Regions from separate parts of the Homo sapiens genome. Here regions 1, 3, 4, 5 and 6 are each linked to region 2. Evidence: promoter capture Hi-C in 16 types of primary human blood cells and fetal thymus (Javierre and others, 2016). All regions are on one chromosome and are shown on one strand. Each heading gives the region's core, a stretch centred on a gene start or on the middle of the fragment in contact. The rest is flanking DNA. Distances are from core to core; before and after follow the strand shown.

Region 1 (4,405 bases), core at 558-3,057, 1.4 Mb after region 2:
GGCTGAGGCACAAGAATCGCCAGAACCCAGGAGGTGGAGGTTGCAGTGAGCCGAAATTGCACCACTGCACTCAAGCTTGGGCAACAGAGTGAGATTCTGTCTCAAAAAAGCAAACAAAATTTTTTTTTTCCATTGACTGAGCCCACTATGTACATGAAGGAAGTTACCTTGATGCATTTTCTCTCCTCCTCATTTTCTCTCCTCTTCACAGCAATGCTGCCATGTATTTGTTCTATCTTCCATTTTGGAGTGAACAATAGAATCTACTTGGTAAGGTTGTTTATGGATTAAATGAGATAATGCCTGTAAAGTGCTTAACTCAGCAGAGCACACAGTAAAGTGCTTGATAAATGCGTGTTCTTATTGATTCTGAAGCTTGAGAAGGATTCACTATTCTTTGTATAAGCAACAGCAGATTCAAATTTAGCTGTATCATAATATATTGGATTGCTCCTGGTTGCCCTTCCAGGACTAGTCTTCCACCTTCTTTTGTACCAGGGAAGCTAAGTCCTGTGGTTATGTCAAGAGGCTCCCTTGCCCTCTCCTGGGCTTGGCCAGTGGGGAACACCTGCAGAAACTGGGAGAGAGGGAAGGATAAGAGTGAGGTCAGGGCACCTCTTTTCCCAGATCTCTATGCCAAGAACTGAAGCTGACCATGTTGCTGAGCTGAAGCTCTTTACTACTGTGAGACAGGCCTCTCTCCACAGCATGATCTACAGGTTGTAATAACCACTTCTTCCCTCCCACCCTCTTTTTTCCTCCCAACTTTTCCAATTCCCTCTCCCCAGTACTAACCTCAGGATACTGCCTATTCCTTGTGATTTCTCTATACCTTTCCCACATCTTTGAAAAAAATTCCTTTCTCAAACTCTCTTTAAATTATCCAGTTTGAGTGTGCCATTGGTTTCCTGCTAGGACCTAACAGAAGTTCCCCCCCACTTTCCCTGTTGACAGGATCCTTAGTGTCTCCACAATTTTTTTCATGTTCATGATTAACAGAAATACCTCATCTTTAGTTAGAGCTAAACAATTTAATAAGTATGTCCTAACAGTAGCTGATTTTTTAAACAATGCACATATAGTGTTTCTATACACCAATAGTGAACTATCCAGAAAAAAATCAAGAAATCAATCCCATTTATAATCACCACAAAAATAACACCTAGGAATTTTTTTTTAGTCAGGGTCTTGCTCTGCCACCCAGGCTGGAGTGCAATGGCACCATCACGGCTCATTGCAGTCTCAACATCACAGACTCAAGTGACCCTCCCATCTCAGCCTCCTAAGTAGCTAACATTACAGGCACACTCCACCGTGCCCAGGTAATTTAAAAAAAAATTGTAGAAGTGGAAGTCTCACTATGTTGCCCAGGCTAGTCTCAAACTCCTGGGCTGAAGTGATCATCCCACCTCAGCCTCCCACCTAGGAATGAGTTTAACCAAGGAGGTGAAAAAGCTTTACAATGAAAACTATAAAACATTGATGAAAACCTGAAGAAAACATATATAAAGACATCCATGTTCATGGATTGATAGAATATTGTTTAAAATGTTCATACTACCCAAAGCAATCTACACATCCAGTGTAATCCCTATCAAAATACCAATGATGTACTTCACTGAAATATAAAAGTCCTAAAACGTATATTGAACAATCCTAAAATGTATATGGAACCACAAAAGATCCTAAATAGCCAAAGCAATCTGGAGCAAAAAGAACAAAGCTGGAGTCATTACACTTCCTGTCTTCAAAATATACAACAAAGCTATAGTAACCAAATAGCATGGTACTGGCACAAAAATAGATGCACAGACTAATGGAACAGAATGGAGAACCCAGAAATAAACCTACGTACTTACAGCAACTGATTGATAAAAGTGCCAAGAACACACATTGGAGAAAGAACCACTCAACAAATGGTGCTGGGAAAGCTGGATATTCACATGCAGAAGAATGAGACTAGACCCTATTTCTCACCATATACAAAAATCAACTCAAAATGGATTAAAGACTTAAATGTAGATCCTAAAACTATAAGCTATTAGAATAAATCCTCCATGACATTAGTCTGGGCAAAGATTTTTTTGTCAAGAACACAAAAGCACAGGCAACAAAAGCAAAAATAGACAAATGAGATTTCATCAAAATACAAAGCTTCTGCACAGCAAAGAAAACAATCGACACAGTGAAGAGGAAAACTATAGAAATATTTGCAAACTACACATCTGATAAGGGTTAATATCAAGTATATATAAGTAATGCAAAAACCTCAAAAGCCAAAAAACAACATCCAATTTAAAAATGGGCAAAAAGGGCTGGGTGTGGTGGCTCACGCCTGTAATCCCAGCACTTTGGGAGGTCGAGGTGGGTGGATCATATGAGGTCAGGAGTTTGAGACCAGCCTGGCCAATATGGTGAAACCTAGTCTCTACTAAAAATACAAAAATTACCCGGGCATGGTGGCGTGTGTCTGTAATCCCAGCTACTCGGGAGGCTGAGGCAGGAGAATTGCTTGAACCCAGGAGGTGGAGGTTGCAGTGAGCCAAGATGGTGCCGCTGCACTCCAGTCTAGGTGACAGAGCAAGACTCCATCTTAAAAAAAAAAAAAAAAAAAAAAAAAAACCGGTCAAAAAATCTGAACAGGCATCTCTCAAAAGAAGACGTACAAATGACCAACAGGTATATGAAAAAATGTTCAACACTACTAATCATTAGGGAGATGAAATTAAAATCACAATGAGATATCACTTTACCCCAGTTAGAATGGCTATCATCAAAAAGACAAAAGATAACAAATGCTGGCAAGGATCTCAAGAAAGAACTTATACACTGCTGATGAAACAGCAAGTTAGTACAGCAACCATGGAAAACAGTGGGCCGTTCCTCAAAAAATTAAAATAGAACTACCATGTGATCCAGAAATCCCATTACTGGGTATATACCTAAAAGAAAGGAAATCAGAGTATCGAAGAGATAGCTGCACTCCCGTGTTTACTGCAGCACTATTCACAATAGTCAAGATATGGAATCAACCCAAGTGTCCATCAATAGACAGATGGATTTTTTGTAATGTGGTATATATACTCAATGGAATACATTTCAGCCATAAAAAAAAGAATAAAATCCTGCCACTTGTGGCAACGTGGATGAACCTGGAGAATATTGTGTTAAGTGATGTGAGCCAGAAACAGAAAGATAAATACTGCATGATATCACTCATATGCAGCATCTAAAAAAGCTGATCTCATAGAAGCAGGAAGCAGAATAGTGGTTACCAGAAATTGGGGAAGGTAGAAGGAAGAGAAGAAGGGAGAGATAGGTTAATGAGTAGAGAGTCACAGATAGGAGAAATAAGTTCTGGTGTGCTATTTCCCAGAGGGTGGTTATGGTTAACAATGTCATATGCTGTATTTCAAAGTAGCTAGAAAAGAGGATTTTTGAATCTTCTCACCACAAAGAAATGATGAATGTTTGAGATGATGGAAATGCTAGATACCCTGATTTCATCATTATGCAATGTATACATGTATTGAAAATCTCACTGTACTCCATAAATATGTATAATTATGTGTCAAAAAACAATCACATAAATTGATTTAAAAAATATTTTTATTTCATTCTGAAATAACTATAATTACTTAATAATGGGATCTGTATATTTGTTGGGCACTACACAACTTCTTAAACCTTGGAATCAGATTAGACACCATGATCTTCATTGCCTGCTCTACAGTGGTTTACATACCATACTTTATTTTAACCACAGCAATGACTAAAAGCCTCTGTTTGCAAAGACATGATGTCATCAAAAGGAACGTAGCTTAACCTAAAGTTGAAACTGTATTAGCAGAGCTGGTATTACCGTGATGTCCGGAGGATATCAAGTTTCCCTCCAAACGTTAAAAATATCCCATTGCAATTGACAAATGGGATCTAATTAAACTAAAGAGCTTCTGCACAGCAAAAGAAACTACCATCACAGTGAAGAGGCAACCTACAAAATGGGAGAAAATTTTTGCAACCTACTCATCTGACAAAGTGCTAATATCCAGAATCTACAATGAACTCAAACAAATTTACAAGAAAAAAACAAACAACCCCATCAAAAAGTGGGCAAAGAACATGAACAGACACTTCTCAAAAGAAGACATTTATGCAGCCAAAAAACACATGAAAAAATGCTCATCATCACTGCCCATCAGAGAAATGCAAATCAAAACCACAATGAGATACTATCTCACACCAGTTAGAATGGCAATCATTAAAAAGTCAGGAAACAACAGGTGCTGGAGAGGATGTGGAGAAATAGGAACACTTTTACACTGTTGGTGGGACTGTAAACTAGTTCAACCGTTGTGGAAGTCAGTGTGGCAATTCCTCAGGGATCTAGAACTGGAAATACCAT
Region 2 (4,518 bases), core at 3-2,502:
AACTGGGGACTGACAGAGTGACGCCCTGTGTTCTCTGCCATGCCAACTTGGGTCCAGAGCCTGGGGCTCCCCACTTTTGGAAACCCTGCCATGCTTGATTTTCACAATTCACTTACAGTCTCCCCAGTCCAGTCCCTGGTACCCCAACAAGGATGGGGGTGGGGGGCTGTGCTGACACAGAAGAAGGAGGGCTTTGGCCAGGTAGCAAAGTGTTCACAAAGTGTGAATCCCTTAAGCATTTCTGGGTATCCCTGCCCCTGGCTTTTACATCTCAGACCCCCAGCCAAGACTCAGGTACCAGCTGCCTCCCAGGACAGCAGAGAGCCAGGCTGTGGGCCGTGGGCTGCCAGGGACAGCTCCAACCCTGATCTATGGTTTTAGGCTTTCAGCCCCAACCAGGTCTTTGTTAAGACCGAGAAGAAAAGGGAAAAAGCTACAAGGTTCTGTCTCCCTAGAAAAGGAAAGGGAAGGCTGCCAGGGAAAAATTGTAGGGGGTGGGGGGATGCCTCATGCCCCTTCTGCGCCCCCTTCCGCGTGGTGGTGGGGACAAGAGAGAGATGTGGGTGAAGAAGAAGGTGGGGTGGGCGGCTAATTGAGGGGGACGACGATTGTGGCGCGGTCAGCGATGCGCCCAGAAGAGTGTGAGTGGGTTGTGTGTGTGTGCGCGCGCGCGCTCTTAGATGAAATTCTCATCTCAGGGTGTGCCCGAGACCCTGGCCAGCAGCCGCCTGCCCCAGCTTTGGGCAGACGCCCCCACCCGCTTTCGCAATTCACCTGGCCCCTTATCTTGAGTTGCGAGGGCTGCTCCCTCCCTCCCTCTTCTCGCCACCGAACCCCCATTCACCTGTTCCCCACCCCGAGTTCAAACGGCTGCTGCAGCTTCCTCCTCCCCGCACCGCCCCCGTACCTGCGCCCCCACAGGGCAGACGATGCTTGGCTGCGCGGCGCGGCGCGGGGCGAAGAGGCGAGGACCCTGCCCGGCGTGTGGGTGCGGGGGTGATGTGTGGACGCGCGTGACTGTGCCAGCGGCCCGAGCTGGTCGGCCCCGGAGAGGGTGCGCGGGGGAGCCCGCGTGTGCCAGCCGCGGGCGTGTGCCAGGCGCGGGCGTGCGCGTGAGGGTGTGTGCACGGCCGAGGCGGAGCGCCCGGGCGGGCGGCGGCGGCGGCGGCGGCGGCAACGGCGGCGGCGTTAGGACTCGGGGGACACCGCCCCCCGCCCCCCGCGTCCCGCCCCCGCCCAGCCTCCCGCCTCAGTTCGCGCCGCGCCTCGGCTTGGAACGCAGGAGCGCCGGCTCCGGGAGCCCGAGCGGAGCCAGCCGCGCGCACAGCCAGCGGCCGCGCCGGCGATGCGGGGCCACCCCGCGCCCGCCCCAGTCCCGGCCCCGGCCCCCGCGGGAAGGGGCTGAGCTGCCCGCCGCCGCCCGGATGGCGAGCCTCGCCGCGCTCGCCCTCAGCCTGCTCCTGAGGCTGCAGCTGCCGCCACTGCCCGGCGCCCGGGCTCAGAGCGCCGCAGGTGAGTGCGCCCGCCCGGCTCCCCTGGGCTCCCCGCTCCCTCCTGGATGCGCGCGGGCCCCCAGCCGCGGGGCCCTCGGAGGAGAAAGTTGTGTGGGCTCGCGGGGGCGCGGGTCCCCATGGCCGGAACCCGGGTCTCAGCTTGCAGGCGCGGGAAGCAGTGTCCCCGCGCGCCCCGGCCAGCGAGCCCGGCCCCTCGCGTCCCTCGGCAGCCCGCGTTTGGCGAAGTTCCCCGCTTCAGTTTCCTGCCGGCCCCCCGGGCTGGAGTAACTTTCCGCGGTTGTTGCGAATATTTCCACTTGCTGCCTCCCACTTGTCGGAATCTGCCACTTGAGTGTTTGGGGCGGCGAGACGAGGAGCGGCACCGACGCCCGGGGTGGAGCGTTCTCTCCCGGGCAGCTCCTCGGGCAGCGCGCGCTTTTAGTGGGGAGGACAGGTCCCCAGCAGGCCGAGGCTGCCGGGGCGGCGGCTTTTCTTTTTTCCTCGGAGATACAGGAAGCTCTCCATTTGCTCTGAACACGCTGCTCCCCTAAGCAGGCCGCTGTAGGCACCCGAGGGGATGTTTGCGTTGATGACCGAGAGCAATACCTCCGCCCTACCCGCTGGCTTTTCTCCGAGGTAGCTGGGCGCCCGTGTTAAGGCCCTTGGAGGGGAGTGGATTTGACCCGTGAGCGCGTCCGCTCCTGAAAAGTTCGGGGAACTCATATTTGGGTTTGGCCACGGGAAGGCGGTGAGCAGAGGTAGTTCCCCAGAGTAGGGGGAGCGGGGGCGGGGGGGTGGTGCCTGCCGTGCTCCTAAAGGCACGTTGGCGGGTGCTGGAGGGCACCACAGTCCAGGGTCTTACACATCACCAAGCCCCACCGCAGGCAGCTTCCACCCCCGAGCCCCCCCCCCCCCAAGAGTAGCGGCGGAGGGAAGAGAAGGGAGTGCTGCAGGTGTACTTCCAAGTTCAAAATCACCTTAAAGTTTCTTAGCACCGATTGCTTTTGGTGTAACCACGCCGGCCTGAGGTGGCTGGGATTGCGGGGACAGGCTGAGATCAGCCCGTGGGACGCAGGAACAGGCTGGTTTCGGATCGCTAAGCAACAGCTGTGCCCATTTATTATTTCACCGAAAGAAGGAAAGGAAGAAAGAAAGAGCAAAAGAACGAACCTGTGGGGAGGTACAGCGTCTTTGCACAAGCTGCGTCTGAGGTTAAGGGCCGCTGGAAGGACATTCCGTTGGAAATGCTTTAGAGCCTTCCTTGCTTGGTACTAAAATGGAAGCGGAATAGGCGACTTCTGTGAAGGGACAGCCTGTTTCCCTGGCTGGGAAGTTGGGTGACGAAGACACTCCTTTTGAGGTGTGTGAAGCTGAAAGGTTGGATTAGCAAGTGAGAGAAGAGGGACAGCTACAGCACCATTCTAAAGATGGTGCACAATTCTTGTTTTCCTCATTTTGGGGGGTGTGTTAGGTGTGCTAGGGGAGGGAGGGGTACTAGGGAGGATGCCCGGGGCAGTCCTGGGGATCCAGGCATGATTCGTGACTCAGATTTTATATCCTCTAAGGCATGACCGGCCAACCACACATTAATACCACTCACGTTCCCGCGGCAGAAACAGGATCAAAAATATTCCATCACGGGTCTCGAATCGTTCTTGGGTAGCAAGCGGTAAAACCCGTACCGGCTCGGGAAGCTGTCCAGTGCTGAACGCCGCCCGTTCCGGATGCTCCCGCCAGGTGGCGCTCGCCCACAACTATTAAAATGCAAATCTGGTTGCTTTCATATCAGGAATAGAACTTCTTTTCAATTTTTAAATGAGTAATGTGTTTATTCAGCAGCCTTTTGTTAAAACATTTAGAGAAGTGTGAGGAGCGAGCACCTTTTCTTTGTTTGCTCTTTAGAATGCAGGAGAAAGAAAAGAAATCCTGGAATATGGTTTGGGAAGAAATCTGTGGTTCTTTTGGGTCTACCTGGGCAGGGTGGTTTCTGCAAACCTGCGATATAGCATATATTTAGCAAGTGGGTGCCTTTGTGCCAGGGGCTCCTTAAACGAATGGGATTAGCTTGTATTGGAGAACTGGTGCATTCTAAGCCTCACACATTTGTAGAAATGGGGATTTTCTGTATATATCTGTCCTCTCCTTTCCAGTTTAACGGCAACTAGACCATCTAAATTAGATTTTTTTTCCCCAGGGTTCCTCATGAACATCTGTATTTGTCAAAACAAGAATACTGTAAATGTTGACTTAAAAATGGACTTATCTTATTTTATTCCTAAATTCAGAAATTGTTAGTATTTCAAATCTAGTATAAATATGACAATAACTTGATTTCCTTTAAAGTATTTTATTTAAAACTTTTGGCAAGTTTGGACAAATACATTTTAAAACTAAGTAGTGTGTTTTCCATGTTCTTTTGATCTGAAAATTCCCAATCTTGAAAGCAATTTCAATTTATAAGGTTACATCCATAACATAGTTGGGCTAATATGTTTTGCTGTAACATGTTGGTCTCAGTGTCCAAAAGTCGGGGCGGAAGCTTGTCATCAAAAGGCAATTTCCTTTTTCCTTACTCTAAGACATATTTCTTGAGCCACGACGGTTTTTGGAAGGAATGATAGTAAAAATCAAACAAACAAAAAACCTTTAGAAACAGCCTCTTAACAATGTGGCAAAACATGATTTGGGATGGGGGAAGAGAGAGACAGTTAAATGAATAAGGGGATAATGAATTCATTTACTAGTGGGTTTCAGAATCCACATATTGAGAGCAAAAATGTATCTTATAGGGGACTGACTTGCAATTGCAATTGTTAGCAATGTAGTCATTTAACTCAATAATCACCGTTGGATACCTCTGGGGAACTGTTAGCAGTACAGTCGAATTTTACTTTCTGTCATGGATTGCTTGATTTGTTTCCTAATAAAAGAACAATTAATGTGCAAACGTGGCTTAAATTCTGTTCCAGCAACAATCGCAAACACATAGTAAAAGCAGACCATATTCTTGGGTTACAACCGACTC
Region 3 (4,560 bases), core at 1,696-4,195, 1.3 Mb after region 2:
CTCTCACCTTTGTAATGAGTTCATGCAAGAGCTAAAGAGTTAGAGTCTAGAACCTCCTCCTCTCTCTCTTACCATGTGACATGGCTGCTATCCCTTCCCTTCCACCATGACTGTAAGCTTCCTGAGGTTTCCCCAGAAGCTGAGCAGATGCTGACACCATGCTTTTACAGCCTGCAGAGCCATGAGCCAAATAAACCTCTTTTCTTTATAAATTACCCAGCCTCAAGTATTCCTTTACAGCAATGCAAAACAAACTAATACTCCTGGTGAGGGACACTCTGCATAATCCCTGAGTCTCAGATTGTCCCTCCCACATGCTGCCTCACCCCCTCACAAGCACTCATAATACCATCTGTCCTCCCTCTAGTTCCTGCTTCCTGGAATCGCCAGTCACAGCTGATTAGTCCCAATTCCAAATCTCTGACATGCAAATTCAAATCAAATCTTTACTCACTGCCAGATGCCCAGCAGGACTACCACAGACCAGGAGCTGCTTTCTGCTGACCAGCCAGGTAGTCCATGAATACAAAATCCTAAGGGTTGCCTTGGGTTGGGCTTCATCAGGAGTAGACGCTAAGACAAGGATTCAGGTGACAGTCATGTATTTGTGATGTTATCCCAATAGCCCCAAGAGGGAGTGGGGAATGGGACAGGAAGTAAAAGTAAGCCAGAAAAGAGGGCTGGTTCCCACTTTGGGCCACTGGGCCCAATCCCAGTAGGGATCCTGAGACTGTGGTTACATCCAAGGATTTTTCCTCAACTGGCTGGCAAGTAAGCTGGGGTATTTATCACCAACTTCCAGCCCTCATTGATTGAGTTGTTCCTGGGGTCCCCAGAAATTGTGGCTGCTCCAAATGCATGGTGAACAACCATCTGTGACCAAAAAATGCCCTCAGACAGAGACTCAGAGCTGCCACCACATACCGGAAGAGTTTGCAGGTAACCTCTGGTGTGGGCTGAAGGTAGGGGGATCTGAGCATGGCACCAACAATGTTTGCTCTACCCTCATCACTATAAGGAACAACAAATATTTGAGGAAGTAAGTCGATTTTGAGCACTCCCAACATCTGAGAGTACACCTGCCATGATTACTTCAGCCAGTTATTTAAAACATAATAACTGAACACCTGTTATGTCCAAGTTCCACTTTTATGTACAGCACTGTTCTACACGTTGTGGAAAAAGACTACAGAATCACAATTTACAACCAGGCCCTGTTATTTATAAGGGCCACACTGCACAAAAGTGCTCAGCCACCAGAGGCCAGGACCACCTCACTTTAGTTTAATACATCAGTTTCAAAGGCATCCTTGTATCCCTGCGAATTCCCAAGACTTCTTTCACAATGTTTCTAGGGAATGGGAGTCTGAAACACACAGAGAAGGGAGAAGGGAGAAAAGTCATCTCAAAAATACCTATTTGAAAGAAACACAGTGACATGTGTTTGAATGACATCAGAATATTTTATTCAGCAAAACATTTAGGATCTCTTTGTTGACTGAGGTGTTTAACTTTTAAAACACATAACATGACCCTCATATAATGCTGGTAAGATTATAAAATGGTGCAGCCATTAAAAAAAATCTGGGAGTTCCTCAAAAGGTTAAATAGAGAGTTACCAGATGACCCAGTAATTCCACTCCTAGGTATATACCCAAGATAATAGAAAACATATGTCCACACACAAACTTATATGTGAATGTTCATAGCAGCAATATTTATAAGTCAAAAAGTAGAAATAACCCTAGTATCTATGAGCTAATGAATATATCAATAAAATGCAATATACTCACACAATGGAATATTATTCAGCTCTAAAATGAAAGTGCTAGTATACACTACAACATGGTTAAAGCTTCAAAATATACTGCATGGTTCCATTTATATAACACGTTCAAAGAGGCAAATCTATAGAGACAGAAAGTGGATTAGTGGCTGCCTCTCCTAACAGGAGGTTAGAGAGAAATGAAAAATGGCTACAGGGTACAGGGTTTCTTTTGAGGGTGGTGACAATGTTCAATTTGTGGTGATGGTTGCATAGCCCTGCAAACATCCTAAAAAACATTAAATTGCACACTTTAAATAGGTGAATTGCATGGTATGTGAATTATACCTCACTAAAGCTGTCATTAAAAAAAGATGCCACGAAGTTTTATTGGAGATTAATTTGCACTCTTCGTGAGCACTTAGGATGTATCAGTAAACAAATAGGCACTTTCACTGCCCTCGAGGAGCTGATATCCCCAGGAGAAAAGTGGACAATGAATCCTAAATGGGATATGTAAATTATATGATATGTTGTTGTGGAAGATAATCAGCAATGTGGGAAAAAATTAAGCAGAGTAAGGAGATAAGGAACTGGGGGTGGCTGATAGAGCCTGGTAGTCGGGGTAGACATCATTGAAAGGGTGACATTTGGCCAAAGGCTTGCAGGAGCTGGCCATGAAGATGTCTGAGGAAAGAGCATCTCAGGTAGAGGGCACGGCCAGTGCAAACATGTGGAGGCAGGAGTGTGCTGACACTTTGGAGGAATAGCCAGGTTAGTCAATCATCGTGAGCAGGGAGAGATTAAGGTTAGAGTGAGGGTGATGAGGTCAGAGAGGTAACTGGAGGCCTTGCAAGCCCTTGTCAGGCCAAGCAAGTGGGGAGCCCTGATGATGACTCAGATCAGATGCACAGCTTCAAAGGGATGCAATGTGATAGAACCTGATGGGACAAGTAGAGGCTTTTCTCTCCTCTGCTTAGTGGCTCACCCAGCTGGGTATCAGGGTTCTTGTTCTTTTTCCCCTGAGCAGGGGAAACAGGTAGCCTGGAGCACATTCAGGCAAGGGAGGGGGTGTATCATGAGGATTTGCCAAGCTCTAGCCCCCAAAAGCAAAACTGAGAATTCAGGAAGCAGCAGGCTGATGGGAAGCTGCAATTTCACCATCTAATAACCTCACATGTTTGTAATTTTCAGCTTCCAATTTTTATATCGTCATGGTCAATTACAGGTCACAAATGGTTTCCAAAGTGGGCTGCCCAGGGAGGCAGTTGTGCAAATCCATTTTCCACAGTCATTCCACTCCCAGGCTGCTCAGTTCCCAAGATATGCTTTGGAGCAAACCATGTCAGAGCATTCAGAGGGATAGTGAGAAGGAAGGGAGCTCCCCCAATCCCGGTTGCATGAAAAGAAATGGAATCAGCCTAGTGTCTCAGTGCCAGATGGTATTTCCATCCCTGCTCTGCTAGGTACATGCTGTGTGACCTTGGCTCAGTCACCTTATCCCTCTGAGCCTTTTCCTTATACAGAGTAGCCAGACCTGACTTAACTCAAAAGGGATGTTGTGAGATACCTCATCAAAGGCATCATGGAAAACTCCATATACCAGACCTCATCCATGTGTCTAGTCTTGAGCTCTTTCATTTTGTTTAATAGTTTTATTGAGGCACAATTTATATACCATAAAATGCACTCATTGTAAGTGTTCAAATTAATGACTTTTAGTGAATTTACAGAGTTGTGTAACCATCACCACAATCCCAATTTTTAGAATATTTCTATCACCCCAAAAATGATATCTCTGGAACAATTCTTTGCAGTTAGAGTCCCATATAGAATAACATCAATTTAATGCTGTATAAGGCAAAAGAGAAAAATAGTTATTTATTGGGTTGGATCAGGTGAAATTATAATTTGTATAGGTTAAAAATGTTCAAATATTAGTAATTTCATAGTTTAGCCATTTTTAAAAATTTACAAATACAGTACAAAATTAAAATTTGCATATCAACTCAAATACTATATATGATTGCCCATGAATTGCTTAAATTATGAATTTATACATTGTAATGTATACAGAAAACTATGTATATGTTGGACTTTGTGAGTGATTGAAAGGATTTGTAATTGTTTTTAAGGGGGAAATTTTGACTACGCTCAGTTTTCACCTTAGGCACAGTCCTTAGAAAGAAACCTCCACAAGTGGTACCAGCTATGATTCAATTCAAGCTAGGACCTTAAATTTGTAGTTGAAAATACAAAATAAAGCTTAGAAAATGTAGATAAGCTATTCATGCACTGCCAACCACACCACACTGTCTCAAGAAATGTGAATACAACTTTGTAAGTAGAAACCTCTTGTATCTATAGCATAAAACGATCATGGTTTGTATTTTCATGCTTACTTTCTTTTTTTTTTTTACTTTTTCGAGACAAAGTCTCACTGTGTCACCCAGGCTGGAGTGCAGTGGTGCAATCTTGGCTCACTGCAACACCTGCCTCCTGGGTTCAAGTGATTCTCGTGCCTCAGCCCCTCAAGTAGCTGAAATTACAGGCATGTGCTACCACACCTGGCTAATTTTTGTATTTTTTGTAGAGACAGGGTTTTACCATGTTGGCCAGGCTGGTCTCAAATTCCTGGCTTCAAGTAATCTGCCAGCATCGGCCTCCCAAAGTGCTGAGATTACAGGCATGAGCCACGGCACCCAGCCGCATGTTTACTTTTTTGTCTCTATTCTCCGCTAGTGTCTAAGACATGTGAGGAAAGACATGAGACTTTGTTTGCACCTCTATATGTC
Region 4 (4,347 bases), core at 1,141-3,640, 1.4 Mb after region 2:
AATGTATGCTCAAAATATATGCTCAAAAACAAGCATACATTTTAAGGCCCCATAGATTGTTTACAGAAGTTAATTCTAAAGAAAACTTACTAAATCCACACCAGTATGGAGATTCCTTAGAGGACTAAAAGTAGAACTACCATTTGATCCCGCAATCCCACTACTCAGTATCTATCCAGAGGAAAAGAAATCATTATATGAAAAAGACACTTGCACATACATGGTTATAACAGCACAATTCGTAATTGCAAAAATATGGAACGAGCTTAAATGCCCAACAACCAATGAGTAGATTTTTAAAATATGGTATCTATATACCATGGGATACTAGTCAGCCATAAAAAGAAGGAAATAATGGCATTCACAACAAAGTGGATAAAGTTGGAGACCATGATTCTAAGTAACTCAGGAATGGAAAACCAAAACTGTATGTTCTCAATTATAAGTGGAAGCTAAGTTTGAGGACACAAAGGCGTAAGAATGATGTGATGAACTTTGGGGACTCAGGCGGAAGGGCAAGAGGGAGGTAAGGGATAAAAGACTACACATGGGTACAGTGGACACTGCTCGGGTGATGACTGCACCAAAATCTCAGAAATTACCACTAAAGAACTTATCCATGTAACCAGGAACCACCTGTCCCCAAAAACTATTGAAATTTAAAAATAAAGGAGAAAAAAAGAAATAGCACATAACACATTCTTCAAAAATACCATAAAATTGAGTAACAAAAAATGGCACAAAAGTTGACACAAACAAAAAAAGGAAGCCTAATTAGTAAGAAACATCCTGTCTCCTGAACAACTTTTGTTTCAAACAAAAATCAGAAATCAAAACCGCACTGAGCTACATGCTCCACCAGTTATAAGACCTGGTTGCTCCTTTCAAAGGTTTTGCAAACCATGTTTTTCACAGAAGCATAACTAGATAGATGCTAGATTTGCTAGATGTGTTGCTGGCTCCAGCTGGTGTCAAAATTAATCTGTGTCCCTGTATTTGTTCTATTTAATTGTGCTTTGATTACTTTTTACTTATGTCCATTTATTCCTAAACCAGTGTGAAATCTACTCATATTTTATTTATCGATAAGTTCATGTTCATTCTTTCTGTTTAGAAATTCTAGCATTAGAGGCAATAAATTTTCCACTTATAATTGCTGTAGTTGCATCTCAGAAGATATACATTTTAAAGCTTTTTTCCTGATTATAAAAGTAACACATTGTTTTTGTAAAGATAAAAGTAAATATTCAGGAATATATAAATTAGATTATGAAGTCCTCTCTTCTGTAATTCCATTCCCTACTACAACCACCCCTCAACCAATACCTTAACTAATTTTACAATTTGGCGAATATTCCTTTAAAAACTTTCCAGGCTATGAAGGGTATATATGTATATAATAATCTCTTTTTAACAGAAATGGAATCATACTTTTGTACTTTACATAAAATTTGTTCTTTTCACCTAAGCATATAAATGGTAACCCTCCATATTGGTACATATAGGCTTCTCTCAATGGAAACATGATATTCAGTTGTATGGCTGTAATCACATGCATTTAACAAGCTCCCTCTCGACTGACATTTCAGTTGTTTACAATTTTGGATATTACAAACACTGCTGCAATAAATATTCTTACTCATACATCTTTGCACACTTGTACAAATATGTATATTACTGTAAGATTTGTCATTTTCTCATGATTATCCCTCAGGTACCAAACAAGATTGCCTAGGACTACAAACAAGGTTGTCTAAGACAACGACCCTCATTTTAAAGTAGAATGACTGAAGAAACAACAGGAAATGCCTACTTAATATGGTTTTATATGGTTCCGTGTAGGTGGAAATAGAAAAATTGCAGAAGAAATACAGGAAGGGACCTAAATGGAATTATTTTAAAAAGAAAATCAAAAAAAGAGGATTTCAGGTCTTATAAAGTATGAAACCAACTTGGTAGGTTTCAAAACTTGTGGGGTGCTACAGACTAACTTCTACCCTATGGACTCTCCTGTCATCAGTCAGTGCAGGTAAAAATTCACATACACCCAGCTTTGACAGTTCTACTAGTCAATGTGGGTACATAAAGGTAACCACGCACCAAGAAAACAAAGCCTAGGATCAAAATAAGCAAGAAAAACTTCTGCTTGAATATTCTCCCTACCCTCACTATTGCCAAGGGGGCTGAGCCCACCTGGAGTGGGGAGCAGAACGGGGTGTTAAAACAATCAAGTAATCCTAACTAGAGGGAACAGAAGGAATAACTGAAGATAACAGAAATTAATTAATTTGAAAATGGAGCTCAGTTTGTTATTTTTCAAAAGCTCCAAGAGTTCTTATTTCTAAAAATATAAAAAATTAAATAGATAAACCAGTATAGGCTCAGGCTGAGCAAAGTCTACCCTGGCATATATGAAAGAATGTTAGTGGCGTTCAGGGCAAGGTGTGATGAGAAATAATTCTGGAAAAGTTGACATGTATCAGACAAAGGACAGTCTTGGGCATCACACTAAAGAATGTGGACTCTATCCAGGGGACAACTGGGACTGCTTTGCACCTTTTTTTTTTTTAAATTGGAGACAGGGTCTCACTCTGTTGTCCAGTCTGAAGTGCAGTGGCACAATGGTAGTTCACTGTAACCTCAAACTTTTGGGCTCAAGCAATCCTCCTGCCTCAGCCTCCTGAGTAGCCAGGACTACAGGTGCACACACTACACCCAGCTAAATTTTTCTATTTTTTATAGGGACAGAGCGTCACTATGTTGCCCAGGCTGGTCTCAAACTCCTGGCCTCCAGCAATCCTCTCACCTTAGCCTCCCAAGCCACTGGTATTACAGGTGTGAGCCACGATGCCCGGCCTAATTTTCACTTTTAAGCAGAGGCGTAGCATGATTACTTTTTAGTCTTGGAGCAATTGCAGTGAACAGTAGGATGGAGGAGGGAACTTTGAGGCAGTGAGAACAAAAAAGAGACTGTAGCAATTCTCCAAATGAGAACTAACATGGACAGTGGCAATGAATAAAGAACATGGTTCTTAGAGAAACAAAGAGAAAAGGGGAAGTATCAGAAGACACTCCGTTTCATTGTTGGATAAATGTTTCCTTATCTATAAAATGAGGATAATTTTCAATACTGTTATTGTAAAGATTATAAAAGTGGGTTTGTTTCTAGTTAACCTATAACTTCTATCTTTGTTTGAGCAAAAATTTGCTGCAGCTTAAATTAGAGTAATGGATGTTGTCTTAATCCGTTTGTGCTGCTATAACAGAACGCCTGAGGCTGGGTAACTTATAAAGAAGAGAAATGGCTTTCTCACAGTCCTGGAGGCTGCCAAGTCCAAGATCAAGACACCAGCATCTGGTGTCTGGTGAGGGCCTTCTTGCTATGTGCTCACATAGGAGAAGGTGAAAGGACAAAAAGGAGATGAATGCTGTGTCCTCACATGGCAAAAAAGCAGAAGAGAACAAACTCACTCCTGCAAGCTCTTTTCATAGCAGCATTAATCCATTCATGAGGCAGAAGCCTTATGACCTAAAGAGCCCTCCCATGAGGCCTGAGCCCCCAACACTGTTGCACTGAGGATTAAGCTTCCAACACATTAATTTGGGGGATGCATTCACACCATAGCAGATATAAACACACTACACAATGCCCCATGAATGTGCACTATTGCCATTTATTACTAGCAGTGGCACATCCATGAATGTTCATGAGTTTAGAGACTGAGTTTGCCATGCTGTGCAGGACAGGGCAGAGGGGCAGCTTGGTGGGCTCTGCCCAGCAGATGATTCCAAGGCCAAGGTTTATCAAACAAATATTGGAGTCGTGAGCTCAGTGTGTCTGAAACCAGAGCACTCACTGTGAGTCAGACCCTGTACCACATACACTGTATGTGTTTATTTCACTTTATTTTCAGAACAAGGATTTTTTTTAAAGACTTTACAGATGACAAAATGCAAGGCTTTTTCTACTTATGAGATTAATCAGCCTCATCCGTGGAAGTCAGAGGGGCCCACACTTACTTCTCCATGCTTTCCCTATGATGCATAACCCTCTGTGTCTGCAATGGCAGAGCAGCAGTTCAATAGAGATATGTCCACAGCAGCTCCGTCCAGCTGCAGCCCATACAGGGGTTGCAGGCTGCCTGGTGTGGGGTAGCCACGACTAGCAGGCGGCGCTTCTGTGGGAAGAGCAAGCCTTGTCTCTTCTGTGTGGTTATCCATTCTCTTTTTCCTTCTGTCTTAGGCAGCTCCAGGGTCCCTCCCCTCCCCTGGGAGGACCCTGACGGTGGCTCTCATGCTCTTCTTGGTGGTCATCCCTATTCTCAGTTATGCTGACCCCTGCTGCCC
Region 5 (4,522 bases), core at 769-3,268, 1.5 Mb after region 2:
CCAAGGCCCAAAACTTGTTGCAGTGGATCCGACAAGGTTTAGAGCTCCCCGTCCAGCTTGGCCATGAGTAACACAGATGGAGGGTTAAGGAGGGAGGAGGAGATGGCAAGGAAGATTGAAGCTGGAGAGAGCCAGCCCTAAGGTTCAATCAGAACCTTCAGCACACATTCATATGGTCAATATGGACTGGATGCTGGGGACAGATAGAGGATTAGACACTGGCCCTGACAAGCAGAGGAGGATGAGAGAGGCTCAGAACTATAAAATGACAATGCAGCTAATCAATGTGAGCATTAGTGTATTTACAAAGGACTATGGCTGCACAGAGGAGAGGCTGGCTCACTGCCCAGAAAATCCTGGAAAGGCTTTGGAGAGGGGGTGCAATGTAAGCTGGGTCTTAAAGGATATCTGGGCAATCTCTGGACAGAGAACGTGGGGAAGGCATCCCAGCAGAGAGAACAGCTTGTGCAAAGGCACAGAAGTGTGGGCATCATTGCTGAGGGAAGGGACACTTTTAGATCCTGGTCCTTCAGCAGGGTTGCTGTCCTAGCCAAGGACTGGGGTGAGTCAGCAGGCCGAATGAATAACACGCAGCCTCCTTCCCCAGCCTACAGGCTCTGCATGATCTGTCCTCTGCCTTCTCTGGTCCCCCACTGACCCCTACCCTGCCCCCACCCGGAACCATGCTCCCCCCACCAGCCTTCTGTTCCTGAGATTCACCAAGCTCAGTCCTGCCTGGTTACTCCCCTGCCTAGAACACACCCCCCTACCCCCAGCACATTCTATGGCCAGCTCCTTTATGTAATTAGGTCTCCATTCAAGTGTCACCTGCCCAGAAAAGTCCTCCCTGATCACCAGAATGAAACAGCCACCCTTGATCATAATGCTCATCCTTCACTAAAAGTCTTATTCATTGACTTGATTTTTGATCCACCCTCCCTCTAAAGGGTAAACTCCATGAAGGCAGGGCTCATGTTTATTTGTTCTCTGCTGTGTCCCTGGTGTCTTGGAATATGCCTGACACATTGTTGGTCCCTGTGATGATTAATTTTATGTCTCAACTTAACTGGGCCATAGGGTGCCCAGATATTTGGTCAAACATTATTCCAGGTGTGTCTGTGAGGGTGTTTTTGAATGAGATTAACATTTAAACCAATGAGCTGAGTAAATTAGGTTGGCTCTCCCCAGTGTGAGTGGGCCTTGTCCTATCAGTTGAAGGCCTGAATAGAAAAAAAGGCTGATCCTCTCCCAAATAAGAGGGAATTATTCCTACTCAGCAGTCTTCAAACTGGACTTTGAGTTTTTCCTGCCTTTATGCTAGAGCTTAAACATCAGCTTTTTTTTGGTCTCAAGCTTGCTAGCCTTCAGACCACAACTACACCATTGGCCCTCCTGAGCCTCCAGCTTGCCAACTCACCCTGCAGATCTTGGGACACGTCAGCCTCCATAATCATGTAAGACAATTTCTTATAATGCATGTCTTTGGTTCTATTTCTGTTGGTTCTATTTCTCTGGAGAACCTGACTAATCCAGTGCTCTATGAATGTGGAATGAATGAGTAAAAGAATAAATAAACAGCGACTTACAAATCCTCTTTCAAAGACAAAGTCTATGCCAGAGAGTCTAACTCAAAAAAAGCAACATAGAGCCCGAGGGGGGCTTCCTGGAGCCACTCCCAGGGACTTGCATGTACCTGCAGGTTTCTGGGCAAAGAAAGAGTGGCGCTCCAAATGAAGGATTGGCTCTCCTGGTCATAGCCTGGGCTTGAGCTTCTTTTCATATTTACTTCTCCCTTCCCTTTTCCTCTGATCCATCAGGAATGGCTTCCCTGGGCCAACCAGCACTTCCCAACATGACTGCATGACCAGCTGGGCTAGAGTGTGGTCCTTCCTAGTGCATCCTTGTGCAAGATAATGATTGTTCACCAGCTCTGAATCAACCAGACCCAGGTCAGGGAGCCAGCTTAGCCAGGATGTCAATAAAACATAGAAAGCTGTCATGTAAAGGTTTTCCCTTTCATATTTCTGCTTTAACACTGCTCACAAGGTTTCAAAAGCACAAGTATGATCAACTTTCTTGAGCTGCCACCTCCCATGATGTTGTTTGTCACAAAGCATTCCTAAGCATCTGCATGCAGTGTCCCCATGCATTCTTCCCATGCAGGGATCCTGCAGATAGTCCCTTTTCTAACTTAATAACTACCTTTTTTAAAATGCTACATATCAGGTACTAAGCTAAGCATTTCCCATTATGATATCTCATTTGACCCTCAAGAGAACTCTAGATGTGGGATCTGCAGCACAGTTCTCTGGGTGGCCTTAGACCAAGACAGTTCTCCCCCCATTTCTTATCTGTAGTTCTCAAGAATAACTGCAGGACATGCTGGAAATAAAACATCCTGAGATAAGAGGGGAGCTGGTCAGGACAGTCCAGGCTCTGTTCCAATCCCTCCCTAGAAATGAGATGTCCTTCCAGGCTTAGCCCAGAGGGTCTTGTAACCCCGAGGTATAAAACTCAGTGTGGGCTGCTTTCTGAGGTCCCTCAGCTGCTATGAAAGTGGAGCACATGCAGTTGAGACTCCATCCACCCAGGCAGCTTTCCTGAACCTTGGAGGACTGGGTGGCAATGAATCCTCGGTTTCTGTTGTCCCTTGCTGCCTGCCTATCTGTAAGTAATAAGCTTGTTTACTTAACTTGTTGTGAGCATGGGTGTTCTGTCTCACCAAACTCAGACCAGTGGGTAACCAGCGCACAGGAAACCTTCTTTACAGAGTCTATTAATAAAGAAGGGGAAACCAAGGATCAAAGATGTCATTTGTGGCTGGGAGCGGTGGCTCACGCCTGTAATCCCAGCACTTTGGGAGGCCGAGGCAGACGGATCACAAGGTCAGGAGATTGAGACCATCCTGGCTAACACGGTGAAACCCCGTCTCTACTAAAAATACAAAAAAAAAAAAAATTAGCCAGGCGTGGTGGCGGGTGCCTGTAGTCCCAGCTACTCAGAAGGCTGAGGCAGGAGAATGGCTTGAACCCAGGAGGTAGAGCTTGCAGTGAGCCGAGATGGTGCCACTGCACTCCAGCCTGGGAGACAGAGCGAGACTCCATCTCAAAAAAAAAAAAAGATGTCATTTGCTAAAGACCAGAGAGCTAGTGAACAGCAAAACCTGCACTGCTAACTACTATATATGTCCTACGGTGGCCCTGTTGCAGAGAAGAAAAGAATCATCTGAATCAGAGGACAATATTTTAATCCAAAGGCTACGTGGCTACAGGTTGAAAGCAGAAATCAGAGCTATCCACAGGTGCAGGAGCCAGTGGGCCATCATCCATCAGCAGTGGGAGATGGCATTGGCAACCAGGGCTGAGGTTTGCTGGGAGCCAAGCTCTGGGCTTCAGCAGCCACATCTCATTTTCCTGAGGTCATAGCAGAAGCTCTGCTCCTCTGCCTCTCAAGTCATCAATTCTGACCCTGGCATCCAGCTACAAAAGTGATTTTACAGCATCTTGGGGATTTTGTGTAAAACCAAATTTAGGCATCAGGACAGTTAAAGGACACCCCACCCTCTTGCTATGACCTGGAAGGAATTTGCTTTACCTCTTTTCTATGAGATTGCAGATCCATTCCAAAGCTCTAAAGTCTAGCAGGCAAATGGGAGGCATGTGTGGCATTGGTGAGTCTGGGCTCTGCCCTAAAGAGCCAAACATTTTAAGAGAAAATGTTGAGAAAGGACCTCAGTACTTAGAATCTGAAGACTTGGATTTGAGTCTTCAATATATCACATAGTCTTTCTGGGTCTCAGCTTCCATTTCTCAAAAACAGTAGCAATATCTCCACCAGCATCTACTTTACTGCTTGGCTGTCCGTGCTCCAGGGAAACTGCAGAGGTCAGTCCAAGGTCAAGAGTATCCATCCTTAACAACCCAGAACCTCTTTCACAAGCCAAACAGAACCTAATTGTTGGAAGACAGCCAACTCTCACTCCAAAAAATAGCAATGTGTTCTATTGAAAATGCAATGTTTTAGTAGTTTAATTTCTATGCATTTTAGCTTTGGAAATTAAATTCAAGTTTGGAAAATTAATTTTTTTAATGTAAATTGGCTTTGGCTGTGAAAGCGCTGAGATCAAGTTCTGGGGTGTGGCCTTCAGTGATAATGATCATATTTGCATATCAATGGCCTCTCACTTCATTTGCTGCCTTGGCCAGCCTCTGAGCTTAGATGGCTCAAGACAGAATGGAAATATGGGAGAAATACTAGTCGTTCTTCCTTTTCAAAAGTTTAAGTATAGGAAGTGCTTTGAAATAAAAATTTCCCCCATGGACTTTTGAAGTCAGACTGAGCAGATAAAATAGATAATATTTTATCAAACTTACCAAGATTATAAGAGAGTACGGAATAAATTCCTTAATGTTTGCATGGGTGCACATGCCCTTTGGAATTCTCACTGGGCCTTCTAGAGATGATTCATGCACCCCCAAATATTTATTGAGAGTTCACTTAGTGCCAGGCACTGTGCTACGTG
Region 6 (4,318 bases), core at 810-3,309, 1.3 Mb after region 2:
CATTTCCTTTTTTGGTTTATAAATTTTCTTCCACCATGTGGCTGCGCTGGAGTCTCTGTGAATCTGCTGTGATTCTGGGGTCTGCCGATTCACAAATCATTCATTGCTCAATTAAACTCCTTTAAATTTAATTCAACTAAAGTTTCTCTTTTATCAATACAAAGGGCTGACTTTTGCATATTTTGGTATCCTGGAAGGTCAGACACCAATCCCCTGCATATATCAAGGGACAACACACACACACACACACGTGTGTGTGTTATATGTTATGTATATAAACACATATATATGTATGTTATATATACACACACATATACACACGTATATATACACACAGATATACACATCTATATGTGTAAATTAAAAACATCTATATGTGTATATGTGTGTGTATATATACACATATGTGTGTTTGTTTGTGTGTGTATATATATATATATATATATATATACACACACACACACACACAGAGAGAGAGAGAGAGAGAAATGTATATGTTTGAGTCCTAAGCAAGTAACCAAAGTAAGGAAAACCACCAGTAAAAACTAGATTGATTTTGCTATATAAAAATGTAATATTTTGGCCAAAGTGGCTCACACCTGTAATCCCAGCACTTTGAGAGGCCGAGGCAGGCAGATCACTTGAGGCCAGGAGTTCATGACCAGCCCAGCCAATATGGTGAAACCCCATCTCTCCTAAAAATAAAAAAAAAATTAGCCTGGCGTGGTGGCATGTGCCTGTAATCCCAGCTACTCGGGAGGCTGAGGCAGGAGAATCACTTGAACCCGGGAGGCGGAGGTTGCAGTGAGCTGAGATCACACCACTGCACTCCAGCTTGGGTGACAAGAGTGAAACTCTGTCTCAAAATATATATATATATAATATATATATAACATATTATTATATATAATATTTCAATATGTCAAGAAACATAATGAAGAAAATTGGAAGGCAAAAGACAAATGAGAAAATAATTGAAATAACTGCAATGTGCTTACCAGAAAAAGGGTTAATATTCTTAAATTTTAAAGACCTCTTGCAAATTAGTAAGAAAGGAATAGGCAGTGGCAAATTGAACAGAGTATATAAATAAAGAAATCATGAAACAAATGACCAAAAATATATGGAAAAATGTTTACCCTTACTACTAAACAAACCAATGAAAATTAAAACAACAATGTGATGCCATTTCTCATTCAGTGAATTGAGCAAAAACACTTAAAGTCCAGTCCTGTGCACAATGTCAGGATATGGGAATTCTCAAGACTTATGAGGGTGCAACTTAATGGTACTTTCCAGAAGGCAGCTAAGCAATGCATGTTACAAGATTTTAAAATCTTTGTACACTATTTTTTCTACTTTTATAAAATATATAAAATTTTTCATTAAAAATAAGTTTTAAAATTCATATGCTTTTAGCTAGTCATTTTACCTGGAAGAATTTATCTAAAGAAAGTAATAAAGAATGTGCATAAAGATTTATGAAGATATTATGGGTGGCGATGGTAATGGTGAAGATAATAGCGATTTGAGATGCTTTTGCTTCAAATGCAAAGAATGTCTTTGACTTCTTATATCTGCATCATCCGTACCCCCCAAATGGCTAAATTAAAAAAAGAAAAATCCTTCCTATTAGGCAGAGACCCCAAAAGCTTCCAACACTAATATTATCCCAAGATCCATTTGTATAATAAAACCAGTATTTTATATATTCATCATCCTTGAACATCTTAGAAATCTCTCCTAAAATTTAGTATCATAAAGAAATGACAATTGGTACCTTTTCTATTTCTTTGAGATAATAGTAATTACCTAGTAAAGTCCTCCTTGGCCTCCATCCTTTCTCAAAAGCCTGTGTCTTGACCTTTCATAGCTCAGGGGTAGTGGGGCAGGGAAAGCGGAAATCATGTGGGATAGGACCTTCTTATTAATATCAGGCTAGAGCCAAGTCCCAGTCTCTGTGGTTCTAGTTTGACCTATCGAGACCCCTAAACTGCTGAAGTTACCCTTATTTACATTTACTCAGATGTCTTATAAAAAAAATAAAAAGACAAGATTAACTAAGAGCCCTGAGTTCATAGGTTGATATACAATAACAATAAATGCTTATTTAAAATGGCAAATGAGGCCTTTGAAACATAATGAAAGCTCACATAACAATCAAATAAAACACGGTCAATTGTGACAGACTGGGCACCATTGTTCTTGGCTAAGTGGAAATTTAGAAGTGTTAAATATCATTAGAAGGCTTTATTCTTTTTCTAGGAAAGGGTAGAAATTGATAGAAACTCTATATTGTCTGAAAATCCTTTCTGGGAGAAACCCTGTTCCAAGAGAACCATCTATGTCTCCTTCTGGGCTATCTCCACCTTGGCTCATGTCTGGGAGCTTGGATAGATAGTTCTGGGGTGGTCTTTATAAAATCAAACCAGCTTCTGTGTAGATGAGTGCAGAGAGCAAAGCTTCTCAATGTTTATTAGAGTGGGCTCTAAAGCCACCCTGAACCTTTACACCAGCCGACTGCCTCCAATACAAGCAGCCAGACTGTATGAGATTGATAAAATTAAATGCTTTCTGGCCTTCTCCAAAGGCTAAGGAAAAATATAGGTTTTGAGCAGCCCTTGGAGGGGTGCCATACCAGGGTCATCTTGGATTTCTCCCAAGAATGACTGGGAGGAAACAGCTGGGATGGGATTCCCAACAGAAGAGATAGAATACCAGATGGCCAGACAGAAGGAAGATAGATTCGGTCAAGGAGAGTTAAGACTCAGCTTTGAACAGCTGCCAATCCCAGAGACTAGTAACACCAGCTCATGACAGTACCCGCCAAGTACAACCTTTCCTGACCATACGTCTCCTCTCTTCTCAATCCCAGCCCTGGAGAAACCAGAAGTAACTATTGGTGGGATGGGGAGGGGAGGAAGGAAAGAAGCCAACGCAGATGGAAGAGAGAAGCTTTAACTTCTCCCCTTCCTGCAACTAGGATCCTGTATGTGACCCAGCATTGGCCAAGCAGATGCTCCTACCTGGGATGCTGAACCCTAAGGAAGTGAAGCAAAGATGCATTTACAATTGAGAATGCATTCACAGCAGCAGTAACCAGCAGCATCATCCTAACCAGAATGTCCCTGTGGTCCCTGCTGCCCAGCTTCCTGCCTGGTCCTCAGCCTTCCCAATTCTATGAGCCATACCCAATATCCCACCAATGAATTCCTTTTCCACTTAAGTGAGCTGGGACTGTTTCCTATTGCTTGCAACTGAAACCACCTCTTTCATATCCAGCCATGCTATTTTTATCTTTTTGACTCTTACCTCTCAGATACCACTGTTTTCCTACAGAGGCAGAGCAACTTGAGACTGTAACAGCCAGGGTCCTTGCATGAAGCATAGACAAACTCATACTGGGATCACATGAACAGGACTTAATAAAAGAACCATTTGCAAAGGTGGGGGCAGGTTATAGGGAAGCTTTCAGGGACAGTGCAGTACCCCGGGATTAGTAACAATGTGGTCGTTATCTTTTCTAGGCTCAAAATGACGAGGAGAGAGAACAGATACCAGAACTGGAAGGAGAGAATTTCATAAAAGGAGCCACCTTGAGGGGAACATTTACCTGCCACTGAAAGGCACAGCCAGCCTGAGGCAATTCCTTCAGAGGAATAGATACCCTGAGCATACCCTCCTCCCTCCAAACCTCTGATCTCCTGCCAAGGGTCCCTGTTGACTGGACCCACCTAGCTGAAGCTAAAGGGCACAGGAACCTGCTCATGCAATCGATCAGAGTCAGCCTCCTGGGAAGAGAGCAGAGCACAGCAGAGAGACAGCAAAGAATAGCTCTGGGTGGTGAAGAGGCACTTGAAAGGCACTTGACACAACCACCTAAGACAAAAAGAGCTGCAGGTGATCCTCACTTGCCCACGGGGATATTCACCTAACCTGGCTTCTAGCATCCCAGTCCTATCCCAGACAACTCCAGGTTAGAACTCCGCCAAGACAAAAGAACTTACTTACAAGGCGTTGGGGTTCTCTGCCTTTGCTTCCTTTATCTGTCCCGGGACTGCTTTGCAAGAGCACCTACTTCTGCATCGTGGTCTCCATTACTTCCTTCAGCCTTTCCCACCATTCACAGTTCCATTCCTTCTTCTATAGCATGAAGACGCCTGCACACACAGCTGAAACATTTTCAGTTGAGGACAAATCTAAAAGTTTTGTTTCTGCCAAAAAGCCAGGGGATATAAAACCACAGTGAGACATGGAGGCAGCCAAGAGACATAAACCTCAGATCACAGGGCACTCAGATCCAAGCAACAAAGCGGAG

The links. The method cuts DNA at HindIII sites, captures the fragments that hold promoters and counts their contacts. A CHiCAGO score of 5 or more calls a contact.
Region 1: a fragment that was not itself captured here is called in contact with the fragment with the promoter of PTPRT in region 2 in 1 of 17 cell types (endothelial precursors); the score reaches 9.8 in endothelial precursors.
Region 3: a contact is called between a fragment that was not itself captured here and the fragment with the promoter of PTPRT in region 2, in 1 of 17 cell types (M2 macrophages). The highest score is 5.4, in M2 macrophages.
Region 4: a contact is called between a fragment that was not itself captured here and the fragment with the promoter of PTPRT in region 2, in 5 of 17 cell types (endothelial precursors, monocytes, M2 macrophages and 2 more). The highest score is 23.1, in endothelial precursors.
Region 5: a fragment that was not itself captured here is called in contact with the fragment with the promoter of PTPRT in region 2 in 2 of 17 cell types (endothelial precursors and M2 macrophages); the score reaches 13.4 in endothelial precursors.
Region 6: a contact is called between a fragment that was not itself captured here and the fragment with the promoter of PTPRT in region 2, in 1 of 17 cell types (endothelial precursors). The highest score is 6.1, in endothelial precursors.

What each region holds. Positions count from the first base shown.
Region 1 is chr20:41,785,764-41,790,168 of GRCh38, reverse strand. No RefSeq gene overlaps it. Among named protein-coding and RNA genes, the nearest start is that of CHD6, 170 kb to the right of the region's middle. The HindIII fragment of the contact is 699 bases long and covers 1,458-2,156 here.
Region 2 is chr20:43,186,640-43,191,157 of GRCh38, reverse strand. PTPRT (protein tyrosine phosphatase receptor type T) reads left to right here and starts at 1,252. Exons shown (of 31, transcript NM_007050.6): 1 at 1,252-1,512. The coding sequence starts at 1,425. PTPRT-DT (PTPRT divergent transcript) reads right to left here and starts at 1,093. Exons shown (of 3, transcript NR_186414.1): 1 at 908-1,093. The HindIII fragment of the contact is 4,711 bases long and covers 1-4,034 here.
Region 3 is chr20:41,925,912-41,930,471 of GRCh38, reverse strand. The region is part of intron 1 of LOC101927182 (a long non-coding RNA gene); the gene reads right to left. Among named protein-coding and RNA genes, the nearest start is that of CHD6, 310 kb to the right of the region's middle. The HindIII fragment of the contact is 2,175 bases long and covers 1,858-4,032 here.
Region 4 is chr20:41,750,196-41,754,542 of GRCh38, reverse strand. No RefSeq gene overlaps it. Among named protein-coding and RNA genes, the nearest start is that of CHD6, 130 kb to the right of the region's middle. The HindIII fragment of the contact is 2,394 bases long and covers 1,194-3,587 here.
Region 5 is chr20:41,713,599-41,718,120 of GRCh38, reverse strand. No RefSeq gene overlaps it. Among named protein-coding and RNA genes, the nearest start is that of CHD6, 97 kb to the right of the region's middle. The HindIII fragment of the contact is 1,326 bases long and covers 1,356-2,681 here.
Region 6 is chr20:41,903,789-41,908,106 of GRCh38, reverse strand. LOC101927182 (a long non-coding RNA gene) reads right to left here and starts at 4,259. Exons shown (of 6, transcript XR_001754611.2): 1 at 4,008-4,259. The HindIII fragment of the contact is 810 bases long and covers 1,655-2,464 here.